3 separate regions of the Homo sapiens genome follow, and regions 2 and 3 are each linked to region 1. Evidence: promoter capture Hi-C in 16 types of primary human blood cells and fetal thymus (Javierre and others, 2016). All regions are on one chromosome and are shown on one strand. Each heading gives the region's core, a stretch centred on a gene start or on the middle of the fragment in contact. The rest is flanking DNA. Distances are from core to core; before and after follow the strand shown.

What was found. Contacts are between HindIII fragments. The CHiCAGO score rates a contact against its expected background, and 5 or more counts as called.
Region 2: a contact is called between a fragment that was not itself captured here and the fragment with the promoter of MOB4 in region 1, in 2 of 17 cell types (total B cells and total CD4 T cells). The highest score is 5.9, in total B cells.
Region 3: a contact is called between a fragment that was not itself captured here and the fragment with the promoter of MOB4 in region 1, in 1 of 17 cell types (total CD4 T cells). The highest score is 5.8, in total CD4 T cells.

Annotation. Positions count from the first base shown.
Region 1 is chr2:197,514,100-197,517,599 of GRCh38, forward strand. MOB4 (MOB family member 4, phocein) reads left to right here and starts at 1,967. Exons shown (of 8, transcript NM_015387.5): 1 at 1,967-2,047. The coding sequence starts at 1,988. All of the region lies in intron 2 of HSPE1-MOB4 (HSPE1-MOB4 readthrough), which reads left to right. RefSeq lists a silencer at 1,806-2,025. The HindIII fragment of the contact is 18,120 bases long and covers 1-3,500 here.
Region 2 is chr2:197,006,654-197,010,153 of GRCh38, forward strand. It overlaps ANKRD44 (ankyrin repeat domain 44), which reads right to left. Exons shown (of 28, transcript NM_001195144.2): 19 at 2,291-2,378; 20 at 1,153-1,270. Among named protein-coding and RNA genes, the nearest start is that of PGAP1, 82 kb to the left of the region's middle. The HindIII fragment of the contact is 174 bases long and covers 1,507-1,680 here.
Region 3 is chr2:197,070,108-197,073,607 of GRCh38, forward strand. The region is part of intron 16 of ANKRD44 (ankyrin repeat domain 44); the gene reads right to left. Among named protein-coding and RNA genes, the nearest start is that of ANKRD44-AS1, 130 kb to the right of the region's middle. The HindIII fragment of the contact is 1,313 bases long and covers 1,174-2,486 here.

The sequences.
Region 1 (3,500 bases), core at 717-3,216:
TCTATAGACCAAGAGGCCTCCCTGGGACTCTGCTATCTCATAGACCCAACCCATCTCTCTAAGGGAGGCAACATTTACGTGTCACTTGTCCTAGGCTCTCGTTGCATTTAATACAAGTTGAGCATCCATAATCTGAAAAGTCCAGAATCTGAAATGCTCCCAAATCTGAAACTTTGAACATCCACATGATGCCACAGGTGGAAAATTCCATACCTGACCTTCTGTGACCGGTTGCAGTCAAAACTTTGTTTCACGCACAAAATTATTTGAAGTTTTATAGGCGCCTGCCGCCACGCCTGGCTAATTTTTGTATTTTTAGTAGTGATGGGATTTCACCATGTTGGCCAGGCTGGTCTGGAACTCCTGACCTCAAGTGATCTGCCCCCCTCAGCCTCCCAAAGTGCTGGGATTACAGGTGTGAGCCACCGCTCCCGGCCTATTTAAAGTATTGTATAAAAGTAACTTCAGGCTATGTGTGTAAGGTGTATAGGAAACAAATGCATTTCACATTTAAACTTAGGTTCCATCCCCAAGAAATCTCATTATGTATATGCAAATATTCTAAAATCCAAAATAATCAGAAATCTGAAAGTGTTTTGGTCCCAAACTTTAAGATGAGGGGTACTTAACCTGTATAAGAATTTGTGATTTGCACGTCTCTGTTGCTGGAGTCAAGGCAATTTGTAGTGAAGGACTGAGCCTTATCATACTTGTACATTAGTGCCTACCATATAGTGGGGCTTAATGAGTATCTGTTGAACGAATAATCTTTTCATATGTAGACGCTGGTTCTGGGAGGGCAAAATTAAGTCCCTATTCTTGAAGAGTTACCAGTCAATACATCTTCCAGAGAGAACCAACTTCCTGTTGTTAAACCCTTCAATGCCTAGTTCTAAGTCACTGACAATTACTCAGCTAGAGACCCACTCAACCTCTCCTCTCCTCTCAAATTCCATTTCTGGAAGCTGTTACATGGCCCTTCCCTCAGCATTCTCAATACACCTTCTATCTAGGGACACTTGATGTTTTCTTCTTTTGGAAATCATGCTACTGTATGCGTTTTTTACTTTTTGAACTGTCTTCCCATCTGCTATCCCAAGGCCTCCCTCACCCCAGATAAAAGATTCAAGGTTTCTAAGCAGGAAAAAAAGTTTGCGAAAATGCTGTGGTTTCTTAAGAGAGAACACTTAAAATTTGCAACAAAGGAAATGTGGAATCCTGTAAGATGTAAAACCCTCACCACCTGTCAAGGACTACTAATTTCCTCCTCCTGCTTCTGACTTGAAAAACACGAGCTAAATCTGTCTGCCTAACGCACAAAACCAGATGTCCACTCTTCATCTCACATAATTGACATCTGCGTCTTTTATCTACGTAAACAAACTTGTCATTGAAAAAGTCCTTGGCTTTGAAGTCGCCGGATGGCGTAAATAACACTGACACTCAAATCCCCCGTCTGATTTCAGATTGGGTCGATTTCACGCAGGTTCTATAGAATTTGCCAAGACTGCTGGCCTGTTTTCTACCCTGATTCCTTAGGTGGCTTCTGGGACAGAATTACGGTTCTCTAAGTATTTGCTTGCAGGTGGGTTTACTGAAACGGTCGCCACTATACGAAGTTCGTTCTTCCCGTGTAACTAACGAGAGCCCATACCAACGTGCAACGCAGCCGTGCACACTGCCGCAGCGGTCGCTGCGATCACGACCTTTCAAACCGCCCCGCAGCCCTCGCAAAGAGGCTCGTGGCGCCCGCCTTCCGGTGCCTCAGTCCCTGCCAGTAGCCACCCGACGCCGTCCGGCTGTTCCTCGTTCGCCCTCTCCCTCCGCCTAGCCCGCTTCTACCCGGACGGCTCCCGGCGCAGGCTGCAGCTGTTCCGTCAGCTGCCGCTCCTCCTCCCAGACGCAGAGCGCCGCTCTGCCCCGCCCCCCGCGCAGGCTGCCGTCCCTACATCCGGGTACCGACTCCAGCCGCCTAGACGCTGGCACTATGGTCATGGCGGAGGGGACGGCAGTGCTGAGGCGGAACAGGCCGGGCACCAAGGCGCAGGTACCATGTCTGCACTTTTCTTGTCGGGCAACTAGGTGCCGAGCAGTGCTGCGCCCGGAAGCTGGCCGCCACTGCGGGGAGGTTGGGCCGAGGCGGCAGGCGGGCGGGCTGGGGCACTGGTGCCCGGCCTGCTCTTCCGGAGCTGCAGCCCCTCAATTTGGCTGAGGCGGTGGCGGCCGCCGTGAGGCCTGCGGAGCTCCGACCCAGGGGTAGGCGTGAGGGGCGGGTGGGGTCTGCTGGTGGTACCTGCCTGCCGAAGCCCTGGGCTGCGAGCCTGTCAGCAGCAACGGCTTCTTCTCGCCTTGCCCCTGAGCCCCAGCTGACTAGCATTGGAGGGGCGCGACCAGCCTGGTGGAGACCCCCGGGGTTTCCTGAAGGTCGGGGCCGCTGAGGTGGGAGGGGGTGTAAACACAGCCTACCTCGACCCGGCGTCCAGTTCCTACCTGGCCTGGGAAGTACCTACCCGTTTCCTGCCATCCAGCTTGTCTAGCCGGATCCGGGTGCCGATATTCTCCTCCTTGTTTCCCTTTGACCACCTCTCCCTGCCGCTTTCCCTGGAGCTGTTCTCTGGTCCAGCAAGTTTTCATCACTAAGTTGTGACTTGTTAGATGTCATTCCTTGCTAATATGCGTGAAGCATAGTCAGAGAATGAACTGATTATAATTTTGTCAGCTTTTTTGTAGGGCATTATGTGTGGTAAATTGGTGCTTGATTAGGCATTGTTTCTTAGGGTTTGGAAAAGATGGGATGCCTCACATTAAAAATAAATAAATAAAATTGGCATCCAGACTTGAACTGATTAATTGCTAGCCGAAATGGCTTGCTATAGACTAGATGCTCTGAAATCGGAAGAGATGTGTTTATAAAATGTTAAAAAGTGATGCAAATGAAAATTGAAACAAAACAATCGTGGAGCTATGATTGTATGTCTGAGAATAGATTTTAATTTCTTATACAGAATTATGGAAAGAACACCTTTCGAAGGGGGCATACAGGTATTGATTACCTCCCCAGATTCATGTTACAGATAAGGAAACTGAAGCCCAAGAGAATTAAGTGGATTTGCCCAAGGATACATAGTCTCCTGATTCTTAATTCACTGGTGACCTGTTCTCTTTAACAAGCTGCTTCTAGTGCTGAATTTCAGAGAAAATTTTAAAGTCTTATTTTGGAGTCACATTAAGCTGTCAGTTATTCCTACTGACAGTTTTGTTTTCATACTACTGGAAATTTATCCGTTACATATGCTTGCTTTTTACCGTTTCCACACTTTTCTTCCTCATGCTCTTTTCTCAGATACCTTTACATCTTATTCTGTGGAAACATTGTTTCTGATTACATTTTTATGTTCAGAAGTAGACTTTTCTGTTCATATTCTGAGAGTCATCTCATTTATTCATAAGTTCTTAATTTTGAAAGGTTAGAAAATAAAATATTTAATATCGTAACATAC
Region 2 (3,500 bases), core at 344-2,843, 510 kb before region 1:
ACAGCACACAGGAAGCAACTGAGAAATAAAAACTATGACTGTGACAATGATCACATAGCGTTCCTCTTCTCTTCATTTATCAGTGTACTTGGTACCAGCCCAAAATAGCAATTTTATGATTTCTGCTTGTGTTTACTTAGTTTATTTGGCATGCTTTAAAAAACAGTTCAGAGGGTGCAAGTGGCTAATGCCTGTAATCCCAGCACTTTGTGAGGTGGAGGCAGGAGGATCACTTGAGCCCAGCAGTTTGAGACCTGCCTGGGCAACATGGCAAAACCCCATCTCAACAGAAAATACAAAAATTAGCTGGGCATGCTGGCATGCACCTGTGGTCCCAGTTACTGGGGGGAGTTGAGGTGGGAGGATCATTGAGCCTGGGAGGTGGAGGTTGCAGTGAGCTGAGATTGTGCCACTACACTCCAGCCTGGGTGATAAGAGTGAGATTAAAAAAAAAAAACCAAACACTTCAACAGATGTGTGCAAATAATTGCCCACAGGATACATATTTTGGCATTATTTGTAAGGACAAACAATTAGAAATTGCATAACTACTGAAAACCAGGTAATCATTGAAATAAACTATGACACTTGAACACAATGAGGCATTAAAAATCATGATGCAGAAAAAAATGAAATGAAAAAAGATCCTTGATATACTAAGAGAAAAAAGCAGAATCCAAATGATATCTTCAGTATTCTCTTTTTAAAATCTAAAACAAATCTATATATAGAAAAAAGATTGGAGATAATATACATCAAATAGTGGTTATCTCCAGGAGGTATGATTACTGGTGATTGTGATTTTCTTCTCTGGGCTTTAAAAAAAAATATTCTGCAAATTTTCTATGATATACTTGTATTTTGTAGTCAGAAAGCAGAACCAATTTCACCAGCAGTAGGTGTTCATGCATCTATTATCACAATCTAACATGAAATCTTAAGAGCAAAACCTTCCATTATTTTGCCTTTGCCAAGGATTTTGTAATTTCTTTTGGACTGAATAAGGTTAATTGGTTGTATTAGGAAACAATTTTTGCTAAACATTTTTTGCTAAAAATCCAATCAAAGTAGGCCCTTTGTAATTGTTTGCTAAAAAAGAAAACAAGCTCATTAAAAAAATTGCTTGACTAGAGCTGAGAAAGATGTACATACCCCTCTGTGTAAAGCTGTGCATCCTAGGATGTCAACAGTGTCTACGTTGGCTTCCTTTTCAAGTAACAATGAAACAGCGTCAATATGTCCATATGCTACTGCAAGCATCAGTGGTGTTCTAGGCAGAGAGATAAAGCAGGCTTTTAAAAAGGAGATTTAAAAAAATATTCATCACTACCAGTAGGAAGACATTCTCTTTCTCCCATTCTCTTCCCCTCTCCTTTTGACAATTTCTTAATATTTTCTAAGTGTCCCCAGTTTGCTATACAATATGCAGAACAAGCTATCTGCCTCTGCTCTAATGGCCACATGGAATGTTGTTAGTGGAATGATCCCTAGGGATGAGGCAGGGGAAGCTTCCTTTTCAAAATATTCATGTTAATCCCATCATTTTCAGATCCATGTAGCATTTACTAGATATCAAGGGCGGGGAGTATGTGTATGCAGAAGCCCCTCTTGCTTCCATCAGAGCAGCTCTACTTTGTAGTATTCTATGTTGGACTTCTGCTAAAGATTTCATTTACACAAAGCTTCTTTCCCTAAAGAAAAGTCTGTCAAGTCTCCGGGAAAGAATGAAGTGTTGTGATGCAAGAGGGAGGTGAGATTCTGACTATCACACTGATTCACATGCCTGGGGCTAGTCACTGCTGACTTTTGCTCTGCATTTCCTATTTGTAAGAGAAGATTAGGTGGGGAATATGCCAACAGAAGGAAATTACTTTGAAAAAGCAAAGTTGAGGAAGAAAAGGCATCTGAAGGATTTTAATAATAGAGATAACCTCATGAGGTCTGTCCTATTTATTAATTAGAAAATGGCAATGGTGTAGCAGCTTCAGAAGAAGGTAAAAATGGGCGGAAAGAGGGAACAAAGGAGAGAATATAAATAAGAGCCGGGAAACATGGCCACAGCCCTTAAAAAGGTGATCCTTTCATCAAGACATGTGCACACCCACTCCTTCATGCTTTTCTTGGATATACGCACTGTGACTTAAAGCCACCTCATTGTGTATTGGTCCTGGTCCAAATATATTCCTCCAATTTCTCGGTTCCGCAGTCAGCCTTGTAATGATTTAAGAAACCAACCAGGTAGCTGCTGTGATTGAAATGTCAACCCAAGGCCACGTGTGAGCGCACTTACTGTCCTTTGGCATCTTTCACATCGACCGCCTCCGGGTTGTCTGCAATTTCTAGCAACAGCCGTAAACACAGTGTGTGACCATTAATTACTGAAAAAGAAAACAGTGGACAGTCTTTTAACAGAACAACACTACACATATCTCTTCCAAATGACTTTTTCTTTTTTTTGAGATGGAGTCTTGCTCTGTCGCCAGGCTGGAGTGCAGTGGGGCGATGTCATCTCATTGCAATCTCCACCTCCCAGGTTCAAGCTATTCTCCTGCCTCAGCCTCCTGAGTAGCTGGGATTACAGGCATGCACCACCATGCCTGGCTAATTTTTGCATTTTTAGTAGAGACAGGGTCTCACCATCTTGGCCAGGCTGGTCTCGAATTCCTAGCCCCAGGTGATCCGCCAGCCTCGGCCTCCCAAAGTGCTGGGATTACAGGCATGAGCCACCAAGTGACCTTCTGAGACAGAATCTCACTCTGTCGTCCAGGCTGGAGTGCAATGATATGATCTTGGCTCACTGCAACCTCCGCCTCCCGAGTTCAAGTGATTATTCTGCCTCCCGAGTAGCTGGGATTATAGGCATGCACCACCACACCCGCTAATTTTTGCATTTTTAGTAGAGATGGGGTTTCACCATGTTGCCTAGGCTGGTCTTGAACTTCTGGGCTCAAGCAATCTGACTGCCTTGGCCTCCCAAAGTGCTGGGATTACAGGCATGAGCCACCGTGCCTGGCCCCAAGTGACATTTATTTGGACTTCAAATCAGTGGTTTTCCATTGTTGCCGCTGGATCCCCCTCGGCTTCCAGCTCAAGGTAGTTTCCAGGCAGAGTGCCTCTGTGTTAATCTGTCTTCCCCCTTCTTCCTAGCAGGGTGCATTGATCCCCACCTTCCTTTTCTAGTTCCTGTGTTGAGGGTTTTTTCTTACACTTGGGGTCCTTTCTTATCTCCTGTCATGGGACTAATAATCTCTCCCCACTAGTCAGCTCCCCTTTTTGTTCCTCTGAGTCACCCAATTCCATATAATCATACTGTATCTACCCTGCCTCCAACCCCTTTAAAAAGAAGGAAGAAGGGAGAGAAGGGAGTGGAAGTGTGAGGGGAGCAGGAGCAGGATGGAGGAGGAGGAGGAAGGCGAGGAAGGAAGGAGAGAAGTGGAGGGGAGAGGGGAGACGGTCAGAAGGGAAGGGAGTAGGGACCTGGGGCCGCCTCTTCTCCCAGG
Region 3 (3,500 bases), core at 580-3,079, 440 kb before region 1:
ATGAACTCACTTATGACTTCTAGGATTTTTTGGTTGATTACTGGGGATTTTCTATGTAGACAATGATGTCATCTGCAAATAGGAACAGTTTTGTTTATTCCTTTCTGATCTGTACACTTTTTATTTCCTTTTCTTCCCTAATTGTTCTGGCTAGAACTTTCAGCACAATGTTGAATAGGAGTGGTATAAGAAGACATCCTTGACTTAGTCTTTTACCGTTAAGTAAATTAGCTGTTCTTTATCAAGTTGTTACATGCTCTTTATCAAGTTGAGGAAGTTCCCCTCTATCTAATATTTCTAGGAGAGTTTTTTGTTGTTGTTGTTGTTGCTTGCTTGTTTTATTGTCTTGAAGTGCTCAATGTTATCAAAAGTGTTTTCTGCATTGGTTGATATAAATCTGATTTTTCTTCTTTAGCCTGTTAATACAGTGAATTACACTGACTGATTTTCAAATATTGAAACAGGCTTGCATCCCTGTAATAAATTCCATTAGTCATGGTATATAATTCTCTGCATGTATCACTGAATTCTATTTGGTAATTTGTAAAGATTTTTGCATTCATGTTCATGAAAGACATTGTGCTCGCTCTCGCTCTCTGTGTGTGTGTGTGTGTCTTTGGTACTTAATATCAAGGTATTACCTTCATAAATGAATTGGAAAGTATTCTCTTGTATTCTATTTTCCAGAAAAGACTGTGTAGAATTATGTTAATTCTTTAAGTATTTGGTAGAATTCTCCAGTGAAATCATCCATGCCTGGAAATTTCTTTAGGGGAAGTTTTAAAATTTAATTTTCTGAATAGTTAAAGGGCTATTCAAATGATCTACTTCATACTGGGTAAATGGTGGTAGTTTGTGTTTTTCAATGAATGAGTCTATTTTATCAAGTTGTCAATGTATGCAGAGTTATTCATAATATTCCTTTATCCTTTTAATATCTGTAAGGTATATGGGGATATCCCCTATTTCATTCCTGATATTGTTAATTTATGTTTCCTCTCTCTTTTTCTTAGCTACACGTTTGTCAATGTTACTGATTTTTCAAAGAACCAGATTTTTGTTTCATTGAATTTCTTCACTGGTTTTCAATTTCATTTATTTCTGCCTCCATCTTTATATCAATTTTCTGCTTATTTTGAGTTTAATTTGCTCTCTCCAGATTCTTGAGGTAGAAGCTTAGATTACTGACTTGAGACTTTCCTCTTTTCTGATGTAACCATTTTGTGCTAAAAATTTCTTTCTCAGCATAATTTAGCTGAGTCCCCAAATTTCACTTTGTTGTACTTTCATTTTCATTCAGTCCAAGATATTTTTTGAATTTCTCTTGAGGCTTTCCTTTTAACTCATGAATTATTTACAAGTCTGGTTTTAATTTCCTAGTGTTGGAGATTTTCCTGGTATCTTTCTGTTATTGATTTCTAGTTTTATCCCATTATGGCTAGAAAACACGCTCTATATGATTTCAATTCTTTTATGTTTTTTGAATTTTGTTTTATGGTTCAAGATATTGCTTATCTTTGTGAATGTTCATGGGCACTTGAACTAAATATGTATTCTCATGTTGCTGGGTAGAGTGTTCTTATTGTTGATCAGATCCTCTTGGTTGATTATGTTATTGAGTTTTTCTATATACTTGACAATTTTCAGTCTCATTGTTCTACCAATTGTTGAGAGAGAGGTGCTAAAGTCTCCCACTATAATTGTGTATTTCTGTTTATCTTTTCAATTCTAACAGTTTTTGCTTCACATATATTGTAGCTCTGTTGTTTGGGGCATACATATTTAGGACACTCTCCTTGAGTGGGGTTCCAACCCTTACTAGGCTGCCTTCCTGACTTCCCTCCTGCGGCCTCAGTGCCAACTGGGCTGCCTTCCTGCTCTGCTCAGGCTTCCCTAGTGGGTTTGTGACTGAGAGGGAGGGAGGGATGGAGGGAGGAAAGAAGGAAGGAAGGAAGGAAGGAAGGAAGGAAGGAAGGAAGGAAGGAAGGAAGGAAAAGGAAGAAAGGAGGAGGGAGGGTAGGGGGAGGAAAGGAGGGTGGGCCAGATTAACTTATTTTTTTGGTTGACTTGTAAACTGCCTTCTCTTTAAAACAAAAAATCTTCCTTTTTCTGACATCACTGAGTCCTTAGAAGTTTCCACATCAGAAGCAATAATTCCTATTCCTTGAACCTCTTAGTGCTCCCTATCCATCTGGAAGAAATTACAGAGAAATGTGTGCACATATGTGTATGTGTGTGTATGTGATGTCTTTATACCAGTTTGACATGTTAGTATAGGTTTTTATTGAAGAAGAAAACATGGAGGACCAGTTGCAATAAAATGAGCTGGTATTGGAAAGTAATCAAATCTAAAGAAAAGTCCAGGCCACAGAAAGGCAAATTTTCATTTCTTTTCTCACCTGCCATCTTCTATGAAATACCTTCCTAACAAACAGGACAGTTGCTATATACTTAAAAATTAGCATTGATGTTTTATCACTAAATAAAGCTTAGTCACTCACAGTGTATTTCACTTGTTCAACAACTTTTGGCACCTGATAAGTGCCTGACAGTATTAGAACCTAATGCCTTATAAGTTGATATTTAAATCCGCAAATGTTTAAAGGATAATAGTTTATTTTTCCTTAGAGCTCAGCATTAATTTTTTCCTGAAACAATGACTAAGTGTTTAGCTATTTACTGAACCAGCGAGTCATGGATATAATCAAATAATACATTTATTCTCTTTTTCCCTATACTAGGTCCGATCTCCTTTATGAGGTTACTTCTTTTCCTGCCACTTCATGCAAAATCTCCAACAAATAATAAAGAGTTCTCTAGGCACTTTAGTTTAAAACATAACTTCATGTCAGCAATCAATACATCTGTTCCAGTATGACAATCACAGACTCCTAACATTGTTAAACTTATTAAAACTCCTTCCCGCCTTCCCCTAAAGACTGAGTGGGTAACGAGACATGGCTGACTTCTCTGTTCCCCAACCTAGGGCTTCTCCTCCTCCTCATCTGCCTCTGCCTCCTCCAGTTCTAAAGGGGATAGGCAAAGGAAGACACATTAGGAGCAGGGACAATGGTCTGACTGGCACCCTTCTGGCAGTGATGTCTTCTGACCAGGCCAGATGTTTACAATTGTCCCTCTCTTAGATGCTGAATTAGGTTCTCCACCATCACTGGGGTGTCTCACCTGCAGTGCCTCTGCCTGGGTGAATGGACCTTCCTGCTGGTAACTTATATTCCCCTCTCCACACTAGGAATCCTGGGTCTCCTGACTCTTCCACGCAGCCTTCCCGAGTGGGATCAAGGAGAACCCCAGGCTAGCTCTGGCCCTTGGCTCACATTTGGACATTGGGAAATATATACTTTGACCCATCATTTCTGAGAGTGGAGTGATTTCCCAAACACAGCCTTCTTCTTATTTAGCTGCCTGGCCAGCAAGTTCTGGTCAGAGCCATTTAGTCTTCAGATTTATCATATACCAGTCTGGCATGCTCCCTAAATTGT